7 separate regions of the Homo sapiens genome follow, and regions 1, 2, 3, 4, 6 and 7 are each linked to region 5. Evidence: promoter capture Hi-C in 16 types of primary human blood cells and fetal thymus (Javierre and others, 2016). All regions are on one chromosome and are shown on one strand. Each heading gives the region's core, a stretch centred on a gene start or on the middle of the fragment in contact. The rest is flanking DNA. Distances are from core to core; before and after follow the strand shown. Region 1 has its middle 33 kb from the start of MAPRE2. Region 2 overlaps MAPRE2 (microtubule associated protein RP/EB family member 2). Region 3 overlaps LOC105372064 (a long non-coding RNA gene). Region 4 has its middle 50 kb from the start of MAPRE2. Region 5 holds the start of ZNF396 (zinc finger protein 396). Region 6 overlaps GALNT1 (polypeptide N-acetylgalactosaminyltransferase 1). Region 7 has its middle 160 kb from the start of MIR3975.

What was found. Contacts are between HindIII fragments. The CHiCAGO score rates a contact against its expected background, and 5 or more counts as called.
Region 1: a contact is called between a fragment that was not itself captured here and the fragment with the promoter of ZNF396 in region 5, in 2 of 17 cell types (M0 macrophages and fetal thymus). The highest score is 5.6, in M0 macrophages.
Region 2: a fragment that was not itself captured here is called in contact with the fragment with the promoter of ZNF396 in region 5 in 1 of 17 cell types (naive B cells); the score reaches 5.2 in naive B cells.
Region 3: a fragment that was not itself captured here is called in contact with the fragment with the promoter of ZNF396 in region 5 in 1 of 17 cell types (M1 macrophages); the score reaches 6.7 in M1 macrophages.
Region 4: a contact is called between a fragment that was not itself captured here and the fragment with the promoter of ZNF396 in region 5, in 2 of 17 cell types (naive B cells and naive CD8 T cells). The highest score is 5.2, in naive B cells.
Region 6: a contact is called between a fragment that was not itself captured here and the fragment with the promoter of ZNF396 in region 5, in 1 of 17 cell types (M0 macrophages). The highest score is 5.1, in M0 macrophages.
Region 7: a fragment that was not itself captured here is called in contact with the fragment with the promoter of ZNF396 in region 5 in 3 of 17 cell types (erythroblasts, M2 macrophages and M1 macrophages); the score reaches 7.4 in erythroblasts.

Annotation. Positions count from the first base shown.
Region 1 is chr18:35,006,874-35,009,969 of GRCh38, reverse strand. It overlaps a transcript of MAPRE2 not described here. Among named protein-coding and RNA genes, the nearest start is that of MAPRE2, 33 kb to the left of the region's middle. The HindIII fragment of the contact is 2,453 bases long and covers 394-2,846 here.
Region 2 is chr18:35,058,729-35,061,768 of GRCh38, reverse strand. The region is part of intron 1 of MAPRE2 (microtubule associated protein RP/EB family member 2); the gene reads right to left. Among named protein-coding and RNA genes, the nearest start is that of MAPRE2, 19 kb to the right of the region's middle. The HindIII fragment of the contact is 3,425 bases long and covers 78-3,040 here.
Region 3 is chr18:35,715,440-35,718,546 of GRCh38, reverse strand. LOC105372064 (a long non-coding RNA gene) reads left to right here. Exons shown (of 5, transcript XR_935377.3): 2 at 1-3,107. Among named protein-coding and RNA genes, the nearest start is that of MIR3975, 130 kb to the right of the region's middle. The HindIII fragment of the contact is 2,402 bases long and covers 151-2,552 here.
Region 4 is chr18:34,990,534-34,993,291 of GRCh38, reverse strand. It overlaps a transcript of MAPRE2 not described here. Among named protein-coding and RNA genes, the nearest start is that of MAPRE2, 50 kb to the left of the region's middle. The HindIII fragment of the contact is 4,840 bases long and covers 1-2,758 here.
Region 5 is chr18:35,375,779-35,378,628 of GRCh38, reverse strand. ZNF396 (zinc finger protein 396) reads left to right here and starts at 1,292. Exons shown (of 4, transcript NM_001322286.2): 1 at 1,292-1,351. RefSeq lists silencers at 1,507-1,576, 1,587-1,776. The HindIII fragment of the contact is 6,702 bases long and covers 1-2,850 here.
Region 6 is chr18:35,689,712-35,692,817 of GRCh38, reverse strand. GALNT1 (polypeptide N-acetylgalactosaminyltransferase 1) reads right to left here. Exons shown (of 12, transcript NM_020474.4): 8 at 1,626-1,806; 9 at 498-637. LOC105372064 (a long non-coding RNA gene) reads left to right here. Exons shown (of 5, transcript XR_935377.3): 5 at 2,375-2,742. Among named protein-coding and RNA genes, the nearest start is that of MIR3975, 100 kb to the right of the region's middle. The HindIII fragment of the contact is 418 bases long and covers 1,542-1,959 here.
Region 7 is chr18:35,746,179-35,749,206 of GRCh38, reverse strand. No RefSeq gene overlaps it. Among named protein-coding and RNA genes, the nearest start is that of MIR3975, 160 kb to the right of the region's middle. RefSeq lists an enhancer at 449-948. The HindIII fragment of the contact is 3,244 bases long and covers 1-3,028 here.

The DNA of each region.
Region 1 (3,096 bases), core at 371-2,870, 370 kb after region 5:
TAGATGAGGCAGGGCTAATTAAAGCAGTGACCATAGAACAAGAAGAATCAGAAGTGAAGGTTCTGGTGCTGTGGTAATGCCACTGTCTAACCCTAGAAAAGTCACTCAAACTCTCCTCACTCAAGAATGTTCATCTGTAAAATGAGATGTTGGATTAGATTATCAGTGAGGTTCCTTCCAGCTGTTTTAAAGACAAAACACAAATGAAACCCACAATTTTTAGTGATTTACTTCCATCATCATCTGGTGAGGGCCAAGTTGTAGGTCTCACCGATCCCAGGCCTATCCTCCGTGCATTCTCAGTAAATGTACTCATTTAGGGGACTGTCAATGCAGGCCAACTTTAATTGGAATGTTGGTCAGTACAAGTGCAATTACAAGAAACTTCAAGCTTCCAGAAGCAGATGTTCCCACAGATTCTGACACAATAACTGATGATGAAGGCTGTGCCTTACAAAAGAGAAGCCATGGAAAAGTTTCATTCCAGGGGAAACTCGCATTCATCCCTAACCTTGTGTATCTTCTGCCAGGCAAGCTAGCCTGCTTATCACCCTTATAATGATTTTTTAAAAAATATTCTTTACACTATTAGATAGTATGCTTTAAGAGCTCTGCCTTGGTCACCTCTATATCCCTAGCTTTTACCATAAAACTTGGCACAGAGTTGGTGATCAATACATGTTTATGGAATGAATAGCTAATCTCACCATCCCTGAGTATTCCACACCAACTCACCTTCATGGCTCAGCTCAGATGTCATCTCTACCTCCCCCTCCCCAAACTCCCATTATACTGTAACTGTATTTCTCCTATGGTGCATCTTATTTTCTTACTAAAGTCGTTTACATATATCTTAGTTCCCCAGTAAAGTCAAATGCTCTGAGATAGAAGCTATCTCTTGCTCACTATTGAAAAACTACAATACCTAGCTGATAGTAGGCACAAAATAAATGTAGAATGAGCACATCATTCATATATATATATGTACACACACACACGTGCATGCACACACACACACACCCCAAAACACTCAGCACAGTGCTTTACAGTTAGTAATCATTCAGTAAATACTATTGAATAAATTAAATGCTTTCTGAAAATGTTATGGTGAAACTAGTACCCTAAAACTATAAATGTTTGTAAATTATTCCAAATCTCTGGGAAAAATATAGTAAACTAGATTAAAAGTCATAAAAATGGTCTGTCCTTGACAGATAATCCCACTTCTGGGATTGTGACCTTAGAAAATAGATGAATAGACACAAACCAAACGAAACCAAACCAACAACAAGATCTGTATAAAAATTTAGCATAGCATTTTTTATAGTGAAAATGGGAAGATAGTAAGAATTAAAGCACATACTATGGCATGTTGATATAACATTATACTGCAATTCCAATAATAGTTCTGATGACCCATGAAAGTAAAAGATGCTGTGACTCACAGTAGGTAAAATACAAAGTTCACACTCATTATGATATGCACTGTGGAAAATTAGGAATGCCCGTGAGAAGACCAAATATGCAAAAATGGAAAAATAGTTATTTTAGGATGGTGTTGTTATGGGTGATTTTCTCCTCTAGGTTTTCTTTAAGTGTATTATGTTACTTTTCATTAATATAATAAAAAATTTGGTATAGTCGACATGAACTTTTCCTTAACGTGACTGATTATATTTCCCAAAGATAACTATTTAGTGAGGATCAAAGCATAAAATTAAATTGCCTACTAATGAGCTATTGCTTCAGTATTTAACACTAAGACTCAGGTGTCACCTGAGTCTTATACATCATGAGGTATAAAGTACAAGCATGTTGTGTGTGGTGCAGGAACAGATTTGGATGAGAAACAAGAAGTGACACCCAGTAAAGGAATCTCAGGAACCACTTAATAGCAGATAGGATTACTCATTCAAGGAAATGATCAATACAGCTTTCCCTAGGGGATTGGTTTCAGAACCTTCCTTCCCCCACAAGAATCCATTCATGCTCAAGTCCCCCAGTTGGCCCACTGAATCCAGCAATATGAAAAGCTGGCTGCCTTTGGCTTCATATACCGATGAATACTGTATTTTCAGTTTACTTTTGGTTGCGGATCTGGAATCCACGGATATGGAAGTTTGACTGCATTTATTGAAAAAAAAAAATCACTTATAAGTAAGCCCGTGCAGTTCAAACCCATGTTGTTCAAGGGTCAACTGTACTAGTTCCTGAAAGGGTTAAATAAAGGAGGGTGCAACCCAGAAGGGATATAGAGAGAAGGGAGAGGGACTAATGATGGTTCTCTCTTTGGTTCTCTGCCATCTCCTACCAACTTAACCCATCTCTGTTATCTATCATGGATGCGCAAATGATGGCCTGCAGGCCAAGTATAGTCCATTGCCTGTTTTTGTAAATAGCTTTACTGAACACAGCCAAGGCCATCTCTTTATGTGTTATCTTTGTCTGTTTTCACACTACAATGAGTTGAACAGTTTAGACTGAGACTTGTATGACCAGCAAGGCAAAAAATATTTACAATTTGGCTCTTTAAAAACACATTTGTCCCATACCCCCATATATAAGGAGATTTAGAAAGCAACACCCTATTTAGATAGTGGGCCACCTTTTCCTGTTACTTTTTCTTCACCAGCCTGGAAGATAGGATGATCATATAATTTATCATCCAAAATGAAACGTTTTGAGGGTGAAAGGCAGTGCTAACTAGACTATTTTCCAGGAACACAGACTTGAACCAGGATTGCCTCATACAGACCCGACATATGGACCACCTACTATAAGGGCTAGCAGTACAAGATCAGTTTTCAAAGGGCACTTATGATCCGCAGCTATAGACACAGAAAGCTTAGGTGGTTTCTCTTCCTGGTTCTTCCTATTTCTAATGCCCTCAGGTACCTTTCCACTGAGCCCTGTCCCAACTCTGTCCTAGAGCCTGCTCTGGCCCCTGAATATTCCAGCTGTTGGAACATCATGCAGGGTACCATATCTCCACTTTGTTTGCTTGTTTTAGATGGAGTCTTGCTCTGTCACCCAAGCTGGAGTGCAGTGGCACGATCTTGGCTCACTGCAACCTCTGCCTCCTGGGTTCAAGTGATT
Region 2 (3,040 bases), core at 541-3,040, 320 kb after region 5:
AACCTTGACAGGATAAAATCTCCTGGAGAGAGATTACAGGAACTATGGAGTTTCGCCTAAAACTGGGTATTAAAGCTTCTGTTTAACTTGTGGACTAATTGCCGTATGCATGGATTCTAGGGCTGGAATGGGAATTTAAGAAGTCATTTATTGTCTCCAGGTAATAGCACACATAAGCTGCTGTGGGCAGACCTGCACGTATTTTATTTTTACGGGGCTCTATGACTGTGATGGGATTAGACAGACAATGCAAGACCAACTCCTCCAGGCACAGACCCTCCCTGCGGCCGGGCCTCTCCATGTGGCAGGGGTGTGAGCACGGAACTGACTTCACACAAGGATGATGGAGAAATATCAGGACACTGTCCATATGACAACATGCACATACTTTATTAAAATATAGACACTGAAATATACTATTTTTTTCTCTCAAAATTAGGCATTGATGGTTTAGAACTAGTGAAGAAGACCAATGTAAGAATCTTCAAAACTATGCTGTTTAGAGGAAGATGAGATAAATGTGAGTTTTATCAGGTTTGAGGTGCTTGCTCTCTACTGCAGGCTTTTCCAGGCTGCCTATCATTCCAATATGAATGTGCTCTTCATTATCAGTCACTTCTTAATGATAATGCTTTTAATGTGCATACAAAGTTCCATTTAGTCTGACAATCAGAACTCCTAACGACAGCTAATAACTGCCACCTCCAAGAGAGAATGAACATAAAAATAATACTCTTTTTCAGGGTGCCCATCCCTTTTACCATTAATGATTATTTTTCAAAACACGGAGATTAAGCTCTTTCTTGCCATATCACCAAGTATTCTACATATGTTTTAAGAAAAAAAACCAACAGAATATCATTAAAACACAGGTGTCTCCAACCGCCTACAATAGGACATTCCGTAAGTCACCTTGAAAATCAACTCCATTTTTAACAGCCTCATTGTTATTTATCTGCATTAACCTCATCCACTACTATTCATTAGGCAGCTCCTTGCATACAGGGCTTAGTTTGGCTAGCCACCCTATCGTAACTAAACAAAAAAGACAAACTTTCAAAACAGCATATACGGGTGGATTTTTGTTTTGTTTTCTAAACTCAGACTTAACAAGTCAATAGCTACAGCCCTGAAATGACTTGGAAATTTGGCTCCTATCCAGGGTATGACAAAATTTTGGAATTCTAAAAAAGTTCTTTGTAGCATTCATAACGTCCATGGATATGAATGAAACTTGACATGTACAATGAGAGAGTAAAAGGCTAACCCTTCCCTGCCCCACATAGACATACGCTTCTTCATATGGTCAGAAATGCAGCTGATTATATTTGCCTAAATGTCCATCTGTTTCTAGCAGTGGGTGGCTTCGTCCATGCTCTGAAAATAATTTCAATGACCTAGAGCTCATTCCCATGCCACAGGGCTTGGCTGGTCTCCTCAGGGCACCAACTTTTCTCAGTACCCCCTCCCCCGCCAACTCAGCTCCCAGCACATCCACTCCTTCTTGACCATATGCCTTCTGTTTACTTTCCCAGCCCTACTTGGCCTCGTTCCCTCTTACCCTGACCTTAGCTCTTTCCCATGATCCCAGGTCTTTTCCAGTCATGCCCACGCTGCCCCCAACGAGCAGGGCCCTGGGTCAACCTTTCAGGACATAGGTGCTGCTGGTACCATAGTGGGTGGTCATGCTCAGTTGTTAGTCCACTGCATAAAATCAGGCGCATGCAATATAGCAGAAGCATATGCGGTCATCAAACAATCATGCTGCCACTAGGCAAAGTCCTGTGGTGCACACATTTTGTAGGAGTGGTCCCCACCTCCTGGTTCTGAGCTCTCTTGTACTCTTGGTGGTGCTAGTTCCTTCTCAGGTACTTCGGTGTCTGCTTTTTCTAAATCTTCTCATAATAAGAAACAAATGACAGAGCAAAGCCTCAAGTTTCATCCTTAGGGATAACTGGGGCTCAAGACCTCATGCCACGGAAGAGCAGCTTGTTCCAGCACTTGGCAGGGTTGGCTGCATCTCATGCTTCAGGTTTGGCTCAAATGTCAACTCCCCAGTGAACCCTCCATGCCCACTTCTGAAGTGGCCGCTTCCAGTTACTCCCACATCTCTCTACTCTGCCCTCGGTGATACTAACACCATTGGTAATTATCTTGTTTGTTTACCATCTGTCCACTCCTCTTGCCCCCAGGATGTAAGCTCTATGAAGGCAGAAACTTTATAGAATATGTTTTGTTTACAGCTTTATCTCCTGTGTCTGGAACTGTGTGTGGCACACAGTAGGTACACAATAAATAAATGCTGAATGAATGCAAACAAAGGTGTGCCAAATCATACAAAAGGCAAATATCAATACGTGCCCCTAGTGCTATGTGAGATGGCTAGGAACAGACTAGGGTTGAGTGAATTAAAGGACCCTGTCTTCTAGGCATTTTTTTTTTTTTAAAGGTGAGTAGGGAAATGTCTGGAACACAGATACCAAAAGCTCCCTAGCTGCCCTGCAGCTTAATGAGAGCTCTGTTCTAGGCATCAGGGGCAGCAGCTTCTAGTTCCAGAACTATCAACCAGTTGGATAAATGTGGGCACATGTGTCTCAACTCTTTGGGATCTCCTTTTCTTCACTAGTAAACAAGGGGAACTAGATTAGAAGTTACAATAACTAATATTTATTGAAAACTTTCCACATGCCTAATGAAAGAGTAAAACAGGAATTTTTTAATTTAATCTTTGCAACAATGCCATGTGATCACTGCTGCTTTTATGTTATGTAGGAAAAGATACAGACTCGGAGAGGTTTAGTGACTTGTCTAGTCACCATTATTAAGTGGCAAAGCAGGGATTTGGACCTAGGATGAATTCCAGGATTCTTGCTTTTAATTGAGACTCTCCCTGCTCTTGTGTTTATGTCATGAGATTAAGCAGGAAGAAAAAATAATTCCAAGTGAGGACACAATTGTGGTCTTTAATAAAGCCATTTTGTCTTTTTAAATTCTACCAAGATCTCATTTTACATTTTCACTTTAACCAAGATGATTTTAA
Region 3 (3,107 bases), core at 102-2,601, 340 kb before region 5:
TTTTGCTTTCCTATCGTTTGTGTGTTCACTGGAGCAGCATTTTAAATATCCTCCAGGCACTTTTCTTTTGCATTCACAACTTGGCTAACTGGTGCAAGAGGCCTAGTTTTTGGACTATCTCAGCTTTCAACATGGCTTCCTCACTAAGCTTAATCATTTCTAGCTTTCAATTTAAAATGAGAGATATGTGAATCTTCTTTTCACTCTAACACGTAAGAGACCAATGTAGGATTATTAATTGGCCTTATTTAAAAATTTCTGTGTCCCAGGGAATAAAGAGGGCTGAGGAGAGGGAGAGAGACAGCAGAAGGACCAATGAGTGTAACAGTCCACATGCACGCACACATGCATGCACACACACACAATTTATCATTTAAGTTCATCCTCTCATACGGGTGTAGTCTGTGATGCCCCCAAACAATTACAATAGTATCATCAAATACCACTGAACCCTGTAACAGATATTCTAATAATAAAAAAGTTTGAAATATTGCAAGAATTACCAAAATGTGACACAGAGACATGAAATTAGCACACAATGTTGGAAAAATGGCACTGTGAGACTTGCTTGATGCTGGGTTGCCACAAACCTTCAATTTATTAAAAAAACACAGTATCTGCAAAGTACAATAAGATGAGGGTATACCTGTATATTCATCAGAAATATTGGTCTTCAGCTTGTTTTGTTTTCCCTTGTTATGTCTGTCTGGCTTTGGTATCAGGCTAATGCTGGCTTCATAGAATAAATTGAGAAATGTTCCCTCTTCTTTTTGTAAGAGTTTGTGAATGATTGTTGTTAATTCTTCTTTAAACGTTTAGTAGATGTATTAGGTTGAATAGTGTATCCGAATTTCATCTATTCAGAATATCAGCATGAGACTCAATTTAGAAATATGATTTATATTAATTTCCTGGGGCTGTTGTAACAAAGTACTATAAATTGAGTGGTTTAAACCACAATAATTTTTGACTGTTTTGGAGGTTAGATGCCTAAAATCAAGGTGTTGGCAGGGTTGGTTCTTTCTGAGGATTGTGAGGGGTTATCTGCTTCATGCCTCTCCTAGGTTGTGGTAGATTCAGACACCCTTTGGTTTGTGGATGGTGTTTCTCTGTATCTGCACATCATCTTCCTTCTCTATGTGTCTGTGTCATTTCCCCTTTTAATAAGGCCATCAGTCATACTGGGCTAGGGTTCACCGTAATGATCTCATTTTAATTTGCTTACCTCTGTAAAGACCCGACTTCCAAATAATGTCACATTCTGACGTATTAGTGGGTAGGACTAAACATGTCTTTCTTACCTGTGGACACAATTCGACTCACTGCGGAGTCTATGCAGATCCAGTTAAGATAAGGTCATAATGGATTAAAGTGGGCTATAAATTCAATGTAACTAGTGTCCTTATAAGAGGAGGCAGAGAAGAAAGACACAAAAACATGCAGAGAGTAATGCCAAGTGAAGACAATGGCAGAGATTGGAGTGAGGCATCTGACAAGCCAAGAATTACCAGCAACCACAGAATGGAGAAAATAAGAGTCTCCTTCAGAGCCTCCACTCTCTATCTTCTCTCCTTCCAGGTCAATGCATGTATTTGATCATCAAGGCTGTTTTTTTTTTTTTAATCCCTTTATCTTTTTTCTCTGTGGTTCAGTTTGGACATTTTTTATTGACCTGTGCTCAAGTTCACTGATCCTTTCTTGTGTGTGTCCAATTTGCTGTAAATCCCAATGAGTTTTTGATTTTAGATACTTTTTTGGTTTTAGGATTTTTTTCCCCGTTTTCAGACCTCTTCTGAAACTTCCCATTATTATACTTATTATATCCACATTTCTCTGTATACATTTTTAAAACACTGATACTTATTTTGAAGAATTTGTCTGCCAATTCCAACATCTAGGTCACTAGTGGGTCTGCTTTTTATTGACTATTTTCAAAAATAATCAATAAAATAGCCACTTTATTAGATGTGGTCAATTTCCATTTTGTAGTTGGCTCTAGAAACAGCCCTAAGGTCTTAGAAATGGTCTTAATTTCTACACATGCCCTTCTTGGATCTCACCATAAAGTTAACAGTGTTTACCAAGCCCCTCCAAATTTGAACTTCGACCTCTGTGTTTGTGGTGCTGGGCAACTGCTGAGACTGCTGCTTAGATCTTTCTGCCTTCCGGTGGTTGTTTTTCTCTGACCTTCCTGGAGTTTCATCCTGTGCACACTATTTAATCAGCCAACCATCTGAGGGAAGTTTGTATGTAGATTTGGGGACTTCTTTTTCTGACTCCTTGCAGTCTAGGATTTCCTTCCTCAATTTCCAGCCTCTGTTTGCTCTCAAATAAGATCTGACTCCTCAGCCTAATATTATTCGTCACCATCTGCATGAACTCTACCTTCAGTGTGCTGAGTGCATGGTGGATGCTCTCTGGGGAAAAGCTGAGATCCTATCCAGTGAACACACCTTTTTAACAGGGGTCAAATGCCCTACAGTTTCTGTTCACTCACCTGGGGCATCACTCTTTAAATAATATTTTGTTCCAAATTATTAAGTTACTAAGCTTTAGTCTGATACAAGCTAGTCTCGCACTGCCAGAAGCTAGAATTAATTTTTTTAATATTCACACATGATGGCTTACTTACTCTTTTTGATAGTAATTTCGTATCTGAATTTAGTTAGTGGGAGTATGGGGGTGGGGATTGACAGGTTTTTTTTTTTTTCCCCCCAAAGGACTTTATTCTTTTTTTTTTTTTAGAGAGTCTCGCTCTTTTGTCCAGGCTGGAGTGCAGTGTCGCGACCTCGGCTCACTGCAACCTCCGCCTCCCAGATTCAAGTAATTCTCATGCCTCAGCCCCCCAAGTAGATAGGACTACAGGTGGGCGCCACCACACTGGATAATTTTTGTATTTTAGTAGAGATGGGATTTCGCCATGTTAGCCAGGCTGGTCTCAAACCCTGGCCACAAGTGATCCACTCACCTTGGCCTCCCGAAGTGCTGGGATTAAAGGTGTGAGCCATGTGCCCTGCCAAGACTTGTTTTATTCTGATGGTTTTCAGGAAGTGGTATAAATCTAAGATTCACTTTATTTTCTTGATCTGCAGACTTCATGAATGTGG
Region 4 (2,758 bases), core at 246-2,745, 390 kb after region 5:
GCCTCTATTAAAAGTAAAAAAAAAAAAAAAAAAAAAGGCGGGAATGGTGGTATACACCTATATTGCCAGTTACTTGGGAGGGTCACTTGAGCCCGGGAGTTTGAAGCTGCAGTGAGCTATGTCTGTATCACTGCAATCCAATCTGAGCAAGAGTGAGATCCTGTCTCACTCATTCATTCATTTATAAATAAATCAGTGTCCAGTAATTGTGCAGTAGCACAAAATCACAAGATTCAGGCCTTAGTGTCTTGACCTGTATTTTGAGGCAGCACAATCCAACTCACTCCTGGGCTCCATCAGTGGTTCTGCTTTTTCCATGTCTTCCCTTATCGCTAATGGGATATGATATATGGACTCTTTATTTGTCAGCCTATGAGGGAGAGACAACCCAACACTAAAAACCACATGCACAGGGAAACGTGAGCTCAGGAAGTTTTCTGAGTGGGTGCTTTTTAAAATGTGTCTGATCTGCCGGAAATCACACCGCTTTCGTATTTTGAACAGCTATAATGGCATTCTCCATATGTTAAATGGATGTTTAAACTTATCACTGCATCTGCCTATTCCAATTTAAAGAATTCAATGTGCTAATGGACTATCAAAACTGCATGTTTTCCTCACGTTTAAAATGTAATTTATGGATTCCCCAAAGGAAAAAAATATAGTTCCCACTCTATTTTCTATTATATTTTATTATAAGAAAATGAATTAACAAACACCTTTCACAGCACTGGGATATTTTGTGGAGAGTGGATGGGTAAAGTTATGTAGGATGCTTTCATTTTATTATGAGACCAGAGGTCACAAAAGTGAATTGAGTTGGCTTAGATTGTACTTTAAGCACAGCTGGGGCAAGAACTAGGTCCCTTGACAATCAGTTCAAATTAACTTATTGTTCATATAATAAAGAACAATAAGAATGATGTGCTCAACTTGCAAAAGTTTTGAGTGAAGATCATTGCACAGACTTTGAACTAAGAGGGGTAGTTGGAGACAACCATTCTTTGTCTTACTTCATGTTTTCTTTTGAATATTTTAGTAGCTATTGCTGTCTCCACTTTATCATTTCTCTAATTTTACTTGTCTGTAATACTTTTGCTGTTTTAATTTTTTTAATCTCTAGAGCCTCTACTCATGATAGTAACAATATTTACATAATTTTTCAGCTAGAGAAATCAGCGTCCAAAAGTCGCTCAACCAAAGTCACACAAAATTATTAACAGGGTGGTAACAAAGCTCAGGGCTATGAATCATTCTTTAATGTTAAAAGAAAACCCAAAACATAAAAAACGAAAAAATTCACACAGCTTTCAGATTCCAATAGCAACCCTTAAAACACCACTAGGCCTCACAAGAACATAGTGTTAAAAATCTCTTCCCATTGGGATGGGCCACAAACTCCATGGGAAAATATGACTCAAAATATGACTTGATATTATAGAGCACAGAACACAACAATTGTTTTACCTATCCCGCATGGCTTACCTGCGTCAGATTGCTCAACAAGTTATACTCTAAAGGTGCCAGATGACTCCTAACAAACCCCACCCAAGGTCCCAGGTCTGGGCAAATTACCATGAATAGCATCATCACAGACACTCAGATAAGAGATTCCAGAAAGACAGCCTGACATACTCTTCCACAAAAGAGATGAACCTAACTCCAATTCACAATGCTCCTGGAGCTGTGTCCATGGTGATGGGTAAGTATAATATAGCGGTAGACTCCCAAGAGGAGAAAAAAGGCCACGCATTCTGGAATATGATTATACTCCCTTTAGTCTTGCAGTCTGTGTGGCTAATTGTGAGAGCTGTGGGTAAGCAGTACCAGGAGCCTCTCGTTCCTTTCAAATAAGGCAAATAATAGTTCTGTAGGACAGACGTTTCTTGTTTCTGAGCACAACTTGGTTCCAAAGCTCTACTCGGTCTCTCCTGTTACTCAAAACAGGCTCAGTGAACGAACACAGAAACAGAAAACCAAATGATGCACACTCTCACTTAGAAGTGGGAGCTAAACAGTGGGTACACATAGACGTAAAGACGGGAACAATGGACACTGGGGACTACAAAAGGGAATTGGGAGAGAGAGAGAAGAGGAAGAGAGGGGAGGAAAGAGGCAGGAGGAGGTGGACAAGGGTTGAAAAACTACCTGTTGGATACTATGCTCATTACCAGGGTGATGTGTTCAGTTGTACCTCGAACCTCAGCATCATGCAATATACCATTGTAACAAATCTGCATGTGCCCCCCTGAATCTAAAATAGAAGTTGAAAAACAAAAAGCAGAGGCTCAGGAGCTGATCCTCCCCCCATCAGATTATCTGTCCCCAAGTTCACAAAACATTCCTTCCACAATGAAAAGACCAAGGGATCCATGAATACAGCGAAAGCTCCCTATAGTTCAGTTATTGCTTAATTTTTTGTGTGTTTCTTTTTATAGAGATGGAGTCTCAGTATATTGTCCAGGCTGGCCTTGATTTCCTGGCCTCAAGCGATCCTTCTGCCTTGTCCTGCCAAAGTGTTGGGATTATAGGCATGAGTCACCATGCCCAGCCTGATAAATCTTAATATAACTTAGAAACATCAGTGTAGAAGTACTGTGCTTTTGACTGTCTAAAATTTTAAAACAAACATCTAAAAAAATTCCCTAGGGCATCAGTGGTTTACACTGAACGTAGCGCTAGATGAAATTTATCATAGATGAGAGTCAGGATTGGAGAAAAAAGTCACATCTGAGATTTTTAGATAAGAAGTGTGGAT
Region 5 (2,850 bases), core at 43-2,542:
TCGTTTCAAATTCTCCCCTGACGTGAGTCATTTAACCTACCCTACCCACCAGCGCCAGAAACACATTCCCACCTGCACTTTTGGGCTGTTTGCTATTTGTGTTGGCAGCTGCATCAGCAAAAAGTCTTATCCTGTGAAAGCCCCTTGTTTGAAGCAAGAATTTCTTCAGATTTAGTTTTACTGTACTCTAATTGGGATCCAAACCTCTCCCTAGTCCCCTAGCGTCATAAACTGAGTAAACCAGCCTCTTCTTTCTTCACTTCAGATTCCAGTACTAACATACTTTTGGGGCGGCGTCATACCAAAAGGGATTTTTTGTTATTGTTCTTTATTAATTAGCAAGTGCTTTTCAAGCATCTCCGTCCTCTCCCTAATTCCTCAGTTACGAGTACAAGTACATTTTCCAGGAGTCCCTAGGGAAAGGGGCTAGAGAAGGAAGTCACGAGGTGGGGCTGTGGTGCATTTAGGCTTAAATTTATTTATTTATTTATTTTTTGAGACGCTCTCACTTTGCAGCCCAGGCTGGAGGGCAGTGGCGCAATCATGGCTAACTGCAGTCTCCACCTCCCCAGATTGAGGTGATCCTCACCCCTCAGCCTCCCAAGAAGCGGGGACTACAGGCATGCGTCTCTACACTCGGCTAATTTCTGTATGTTTTGTAGAGATGCGGTTTAGCCATGTTGGCCAGGCTGGTCTCGAACTCCTTGGCTCATGTGATCTGCCCATCTCGACCTCCCAAAGTGCTGGGATTACAGGCATGAGCCACCGCGCCCGGCCTCAAACTTATTTTTCAATTGAGATTAAGATTATCTGAGGAGAGATATGTGTATGTATTGTAACAAATTTTATGTGGGTCAGTTCTCACTTTTTCAAGGGCCATTGTGTTCTCCTGTGAAAGCATGGGGTTGCGGATGTCAAACTTGTCCCTTAAAACGTCAGTACTTGGGGTGTAACCACTTCGGGAGTGGGAATGGTATTAGGGATTGTACTCAGCGGTAGACAGCACAGCATTCGCCCCTCTCTGTAATCCTTGGCAAGTCACAGGACATTTGAGTTTATTTTCTGTAAAATGGGAATAACCTTACTGAGTTACCGGAGTAAATGAATAATGTAAGCAAAAGCACTTTGCGAAGCAACAATGCTAGTTTATTGAACGGAACACTGAGCAGAGCAGCTGGATTCCCACCGGTCGAGCCTCCCGGTTCTCTTTCCCTGTCCCAAGTGCGCGGCCACAGCGGCTCTTCTCCATGGCAACGTCCCCGCGTTCCGGGCCCCGCCCCGACCCGCCACCAGAACCGGAAGTTGTTGCGCAGCTGGCAGTTCCCCGGTTTCTCCCCGACGGCGTCGGGAGGTGAGACCCGAGGCCTCTTTAGGGCCCCCAGGCTGCGGTCAGAGGCGGTGGTCCCCGGGTGGTGGAAGGGGGACGCGGAGAGGCGGCCGCGGACTCGTCGCCACCCCTCCCTTCGCGCGCAAGTGCAGCACCCTTACACCGTCCCAGATCCCCAGGCCCCTCCCCTCCGCTGCCTGCCCCTGAGTCCGCGCACCCCTTCCCCTCGTCCTTCCCCGGCGGACCCCGGGCGCCTGCCCTGCCAGGTGAACCCGCGCCACCTGCCGCTTCGCCCCGGCGGTTCCCAGCCTGGGAGGCGCGCGGCGCGGCGCGGTGGGCGCGGGAGGTCGGGAGATGGTCGGAAGCCAGCCCTCCCAGAGCCGGCCCACCACAGCAGGGTAGAGCCGAGAGCGGCGTCCCCTGCAGAAAGACCCCTGCGTCCCAGGCTTTGATCGAAGCCTCCCCTCCAGGGACGTTCTTTCTGGTTGTCGTGCGGTGTCGGGGGTTCCTTACCCTCACCTCAGGTTTAGCACAGATTCTGCGCCTGGTGCTGAAGTGACAGGGCGGCCACTCTCTTCCAGAGGCTGCTTTAGCCCCGGGGTCCCTCATATATCCCTTAGGGTACCTGACGGCTCCAAACCGGTGGCCTCAACCCTTCCCACCTCTCAGGTCTTGTTCCCCAGACTCTTCTGGCCCCGCTTCATCTGGGAGCGCGGCTGCCTGCCGCCACTTCCTCCTCTGCGCTGAGACAACGCGCAGGGGTCACCACAAGGGCCCCTGCTGCCTATGGCCTCTAACCACACAGCACCATGGATAAATGTGGACGGCCTGGGTTCAGACCCCAGCTTTGCCCTTGGCCAGAGTACCTGGCTTTGCTGTGACTGCTTCCCCGTCTACAACATGGGGGTAAAAATAATCTAGGGCTTTTATGAGGATTTAACCTTTGTTTATTTTTACTAAGGTGTTCAAAACAGTGCTTGGCACATAGTAAATTCTGTTAATATGTGTGTCTGCTATTGTTTGTTTCATAGCACATCATTGTGTAAAGTTGTATCATTTATTTGGTAACAACTTTATGAACTCACAGGCTTTATACAGGGCCTAGAACAATACTTGGTGAAGTGAGAAAATAAGTCAAATGGCAGGATACATAACGATGGAAGACGGAGGCGCACGTAAGATTTTTAAAGTAGTCATCATTTGCTGAAGTTGTACAAACACTATCATATACCTCCTGCCCAATTTAAAAAATATGATTAGACCGGGTGCAGAGCCTCACGCCTGTACTCCCAGCATTTTGGGAGGCCGAGGCAGAGGGATCACCTGAGGTCAGGAGTTCGAGACCAGCCTGGCCAACATGGTGAAACCCCGTCTCTACTAAAATTATAAAAATTAGCCGGGCGTGGTGGTACACGTCTGCAATCCCAGCTACTTGGGAGGCTGAGGCAGGAGAATCGCTTGAACCCAGAAGGCAGAGGTTGCAGTGAGCCAAGATCCCGCCATTGTACTCCAGCCTGGGCAAC
Region 6 (3,106 bases), core at 501-3,000, 310 kb before region 5:
ATCATTTGCTGCTGTGACTTATAAAAGGAAATATTGTCCTTCTATTGATTTCTATCACAAAAAGGTTGGATTTCTTTCCCTACTTGGCTTCATATTTTTTTCTAAAAGCCATCTTATAATTACAAGTTCACAAAGACCTGCAAAGAAGTCTTTTTTTTTTTAATATATATACAGATTTTACAGATCCACAATTGCAGATGGTGCAGTCTGTTTAGGAAACACATCACTATAGACAGAATAGGGAAAAACAGACCCCACAGTACACAGCTTATCTCCAGGCGCATCAACTCAGTGGAAATCAACTTTCAGGGAGGAGGAATGGGAAAAAAAGAATATAGTTTAGACTTACGTGGTAAGAAGGAGGAAGGAAGCAAGAGAAGTTAAATGTTAACATGAAGGTACTTTCCTTATTGGAAGTTTAACTAACTCCTATTTTTTTTTAATAAAAAAGTAAGAACATAATAACCACATAGAATATATATATATATATTTCTTACCTCTCCCAATGAGAAATAGTGACGTGGAATTTGAGAATCAGGATATATATTCTCTAGGTACCAGGAAAAAGGTTTGCATTGTAGTTTGTGTCTTAGACCAACTCTTGACGATATATCTCCATAATCTACCTTTGTAACACCTGTTGAAAGAAATAATTGACTCTGAATTATTAGTGTTGTTTTAGGTAACACATGTTTATATATTGAATCTAATAAGCCAGATGAATCAGAACAGTGGTATCAGCTGGGTGATATGTGACTATACAAGTGGAGACACCATGAATCCACCAAAAGTATAAAGCAAGGAAAATACATTAAAATGTGTTTTAATTTTTCAGAGAAAAATGACATTTATGTGAGAATGAAATATAAGTGATATGGGATCAGTAAACTTCAATATATGTTAAGGCACAAACAAAAAAATCAAGGTCTATTTTGCTCAAATATTAAACAGAGCAATTGTTTGCAGTCAGGCTTCTCTCACACAACTCACTGAACTGTGCACCCTGCCACTTGACAGTCTTGCAGTAACTAAAAAATAAGGATGGACTAGTAACAATGTCAGGCCGACTTATAGCTGATGGAACAACTGTTCCTACAAAACTCTGAATAGCAAAGTTTCCGGAAAGAAGGCCCTGTGGCACGTTTTGGGCTCTCAGTGGCCTTGTGATACTTGACGAAAGCCTCCTATGACAGCATTGAGGGCCTGCTTATAGAGAACGTTCATGACCCACTGCAAAAACAGTGGTTTTGTTATGTTGAATGAAAACTCCAAGAATCAAGAAAAAGTCATATAAGCTAGAAAAATGGCTGAAAATTTAACAAGATGAAACTTCACAGGAATAAATACTAAATGTTGCAGTTAGGTTTTAAAAAAAATAGAACATCTGCAAAACCTGGGCTAGCAACACTGACCTGGATAATTTATTACTGTTAATTATATATTATTCTAGGCATTCTGCCAAGCACTTTCTATACTGTGTGTGATTTCATTCATTCCTTACAATGACCTTATGAGGCAGGTGTTCACCTCTGCTCAAAGCTTCACTTCTAACCTTCTTACTTCTCCTCCAGGATCAGGGTCAACAAAGGTACAGCCTTGTATTTCTAATGCAAAACAACGCTAACCTGGAGAAATTATATAGAAGAAATTCTTGAATTCATCCATCCACACTTCTGCAAGTCGTCTGTTATTTTTATTGATAATCTGCCCTGTGCCTCCTGGAAACGTGTAAGGTGTAGCTTTCCGAAACACATGTCCAACATGTGAGCATGTAACAATTTCCAAAGTTCCTCCACACTGCCAAATCTGAAAACAGCAGAGATGACCATGTAACATGTAGCTGAGTAATCAGGAAATGTTCACCTTAGTTTTCCCATAGTATTTTTCTTTTCAATTAAATAGGGGTTTGGCTTTTGTTTAAACTTAAATGGAACATATTGTAGTTACTGGTAAAAAGCTTCCAAAGTACCTCCATACTACCAAATCTGAAAATAACAGCAAAGACCATATATGACATTGATAGTTTTTAAAAAAGTATTGACATCTATTGGGTTCCACAGTTGGAATTTCGCAAAATCAGGGGCACATGATGGGCTCCGGCTGTATGGTTAGGTTACAAAGCCAGTGCTTCCTCAAGAGAAACATTTCTCTAATTTGGGTTCTGATCAAACCAAAAGTTGAAGATTAAAATAAAGAAAACATAGGTTAAAGGCTAAATACAGAAAAGATATGGGATCTAGAGCAGTATTTTTCTAACTGCAGGCCATTATACCTAAGAGAATCATAAATTCAAATTGATGAATTGCAACCTGTACTTGTTAACAAGGACATACTGTTTCATAAAATGTTTAAATTTTATGTTTTGTGTGTGCAGAATGTATAATGTATTTATTAATGTGGCTCATGGTTAAAAACAACCACCAAACAAAACCTGACCATGGAGTAACCAGCCAGATGCTCATCTGTTCACCCCTCTCCAAACCTGCGTCACGGCTTGTACATGAAACAGAACCTAGGAATCTCAACTAGATCCATTGTAAGTTCTTCAGTGAGACAGTAAAAGCATGTTTTGTTGTCTTTGTTAGAACAATAAAAACAAAAAAAGGGGCAGAAGAAAGATGATCAAGTATGGGCTTACATCCTTAATTTAATGAAATCCTTCTGTTTCTTTCAAAATACATTCCCCCCACCAAGTTAAAAATCTCATAACTCTTTATAATTAAAATAACATTTTGGAAAGTTCTGATTTTGTTAAATATTCAGTGTTCCTACCTTCAAGTTTTCCCAGGATTATAAGTGTTAGAGCTGGATAGGATCTCCAAGGTGATATTGAGTCCAACCCTCTCTTTGACAAGAAGGCAAAGCGATTCACTGGGAACAAAGTGAGCTCGCTGGTTCAGATTACAGTACACGTCAGTGTGATTTCCACTATAATAAGCTATGTGTCTAAAGTTGGTTATTTGCAAAAATATGCAATGCCATTTAAACGATATGTTGATTCTAGTGAACATGAAATGCAAAGACTTTATATGTAGACTGGGTTAAATTAATTTAGAGTCATTTTAGAATTCTTTCGCATTTTTATTGAAAAATATAAAGCTGGTAA
Region 7 (3,028 bases), core at 254-2,753, 370 kb before region 5:
CACCCCTCCCTGAGACATATGCTTCCTCTATTCCCATTTTCTTCCAATATTCACTTTATCTTACATAAAATGTAGATTTACTGGGCACATACACAAGTATGTAATCATTCAGCTCACTGCCATCCGCCCCATACTTTTTAAGGAAAATGTATAAATACAAAACCTCCTGAGAACGTCTTTGGAAGAAAGAGCCACAGATGCATCTGTGACTCGTGTTTTTCCCAGGTGCATCCCCCAAGCTGGCTCCATAAACTTCAGTGATCTGAGACTTATGCTTCAATCACTCATTTTGGCTCCTAGGTATAGGGCAGGACTATTTTGGAATGAGGGAGACAGGAGAAGGGAGAGAATGACCTTTCTAGGTTTTATGGCTTGCTTTGGGGGAGAGGGATTGTAGTTTCTAGGATGCATCCTGGGGAAGCTGAATTATGGTTCCTATGACTTGCTTCAGGGAAGAAAGAGGAAAAGGAGATGGGAGGGCAGGAGAAGATCAGAAAGAACTTGCGTCTGTGACCTTCCAGTTTCCTTCATTTCAAAGTTCTCAGCATGCCAAAGCCCCATGCTTCAGGGTATTGTTTTCTGAGCCCCAACAGGGTCAAATGCATCTTCCTGGCCCATCCATTCTGTTATCTGTGGTCAGCTTGGTTTTGGCCATCTGAATCTGTGGATTCCATCATCCTGCAGGTCTTCCTGGATCTGCCCATGTCCTGCTGACTGCTGGGGCTGGGTGGGCAAAGCCAGGCTGCCCCCAGCCACAGGAGCCCTGCCTAGGCTGGCACTTCCCCCCCTGGGGGTGGTGGTAAGCCTCAGTGCTGGGCTGGCTTTTAAAATGTGTGGTCGGTGTGAGCACTGGCTTGTTTCACCTCTGTGCATGTCAGACTCTGAGGAAGTCACAGCCTAACATGCTGCACACACCCCTGCACCTGGAGTCTCCTCGGTATAAGCAGAGATAGAAAGCCCAGCTGCACCCTGCTGCCTGGCACACAGTAGGTGCTTGGTAAATATTTGCTGAACAAATGAATGAGGAAGTCCCCAACCTGCCATCTGACAGAGGCCACCCAGAGCCCTCTGCCTGTCAGGGCAGGGGACTGCCTTCGAGATCTTTTATGGCCACATCCTTTATTTAACTGAGGAGCAGACTGAAGCCTGGGCGGCAGGTGATTGACAGAAGGTGTCATAGCACGTTGTGGGCAGTGCCTGGCCAGATGGGGCCTCTGATCCCCTCTACTGATACAAGTGAGGCCCCCCAAAGGCCGAGGCTCATTCTTTACCCCAGGCTTGAGCTGGGCCTGGGGACTGGGGGGCCGTGGATGGTCACCCCACCTTGTCCTCCATCCTTTTCCTGTCCCCTGCTCCCTCCCCTCATTTATTTCCTGCTTCATTCTCCACCTCAAACCTACCCAAGCACTGCACCCCCACCCCCACCCCCGCCTCCACCCCATGGGCCTTCCCTGTTTACCACAGAGGGAAGGGCTGGCCCACCCACCAGCCATAACAACCTGTGGGCACAGTTTTGCAGGGCCCCACTCCGTTCTCCCAAAGCCTAAGTTTTAGCAAAATGTTTATAACCCCCGAGGCTCAGATTCTAGCTCTGCCTCCACATGTGAGCTGTGTGACCTTGGCCAAGTCCCTCTGCGAATCTGTCATCTCCATCCCGCATTAGGGCTGGGGAGGCCCGGGGGAGACTCATGTACGGAGGCTGGGAGAACCCCAGGTTCTTTATGAGTTATTGTAAGGATCGTTAGCAACAGCAGAAGCACATGCAGATCCCTGTGCCTCCACAGCGGCAGACTGGACTTCTGAGAGGCACCCTGTGACTTGCAGCCTTTTTGGTTTCCCCAGGAGAGCCAGGCTGGGGATCTCCCAGTGCATTTCTCAGCCCATTTTTCCCTATTGGAGCTGGAGCTAGGGCTGAGACTTTGGGGGCCTGGACTCCCAAGGGAGGGATGTTATACTCTGGTGCAGATGGTGAGGGAGCCCTGTGCTGGCCCTTCTCACCTTATGGAGTCTGCTGCATACTTCACAGATGCTTTGGGTCAGGGGCTACCCAGTCCACCAGCCCTGCTGACACAGGGTCCTGGAGTTTAGGGCACATTCTCCCTCCAGGGCAGGGCAGGGCAAGGCTGGGCAGGGTAAGGCAGGTATGGACCTGATAGCCAAGGAGCCAGGACACTGGCGCAGACATGGGACATGTCCCTGCCTGTGTCTTCTCCACATACAGTTTCCTAGGCCCTGGCATGTCCTCTCCTGAACAGAGGAGGAGGAGGAAACTGGAGCAAGGCAAGTTCAAATAATTTGCCCAGACCACGGTGCAGTGAGCAGGGAGATGAGGATTTGAACCAGGCCTGTTGCTCCAAGGACTGGGCCTTTTCTGGTACAGAAGGGGCTACCTTTACACCGGTAGCTCCTCTGGCTGGAAAGATGACTGTTTTAGACATCTAGTCCTGTTGCCCCAACCCTGCTCTGGGACACCTCATAGCAACAGTCTTGTGACTTGGGACAAAATACTCAATCTTCTGGGACCTCAATTTTCCTTGCAAAGGAAGGTGATGGAAATAATAACTGCTTCTTGGAGTTTTTATGATAATAATTCCTTGTTATTCTTATTAGTAGCAGTAGTATTGACGTCAAAGCTGACATCCACCAAGTGTGTTTACTTATATTAAAGCAGGCAATGTGGGGGGCAGAATAATGACCCCTCAAAGACGTCCACATCGTAACCTATGAATATGAATATGTTAGGTTACATAGCAAAGGGATTACATTTGTTGCAGGTGAAAGTGAGGTTACTCATCAGCTGGCATTACAAAGGGGAGATTATCTTGTATCATCCAGCTGGGGCCATTATACTTACAAGGGTCCTTAAAGTAGAAGAGAGAGGCAGAAGAGGAGATCAGAGTGATACAATATGAGACCTCAACCCGCTCTTGCTGGCTTTGAAGACAGATGAAGGAGGTCATGAGTCAAAGCATGCAGGCAACCTCCAGAAGCTGGAAAGGGAAAGGACAGGTTTTCCCCTTGAACCTAC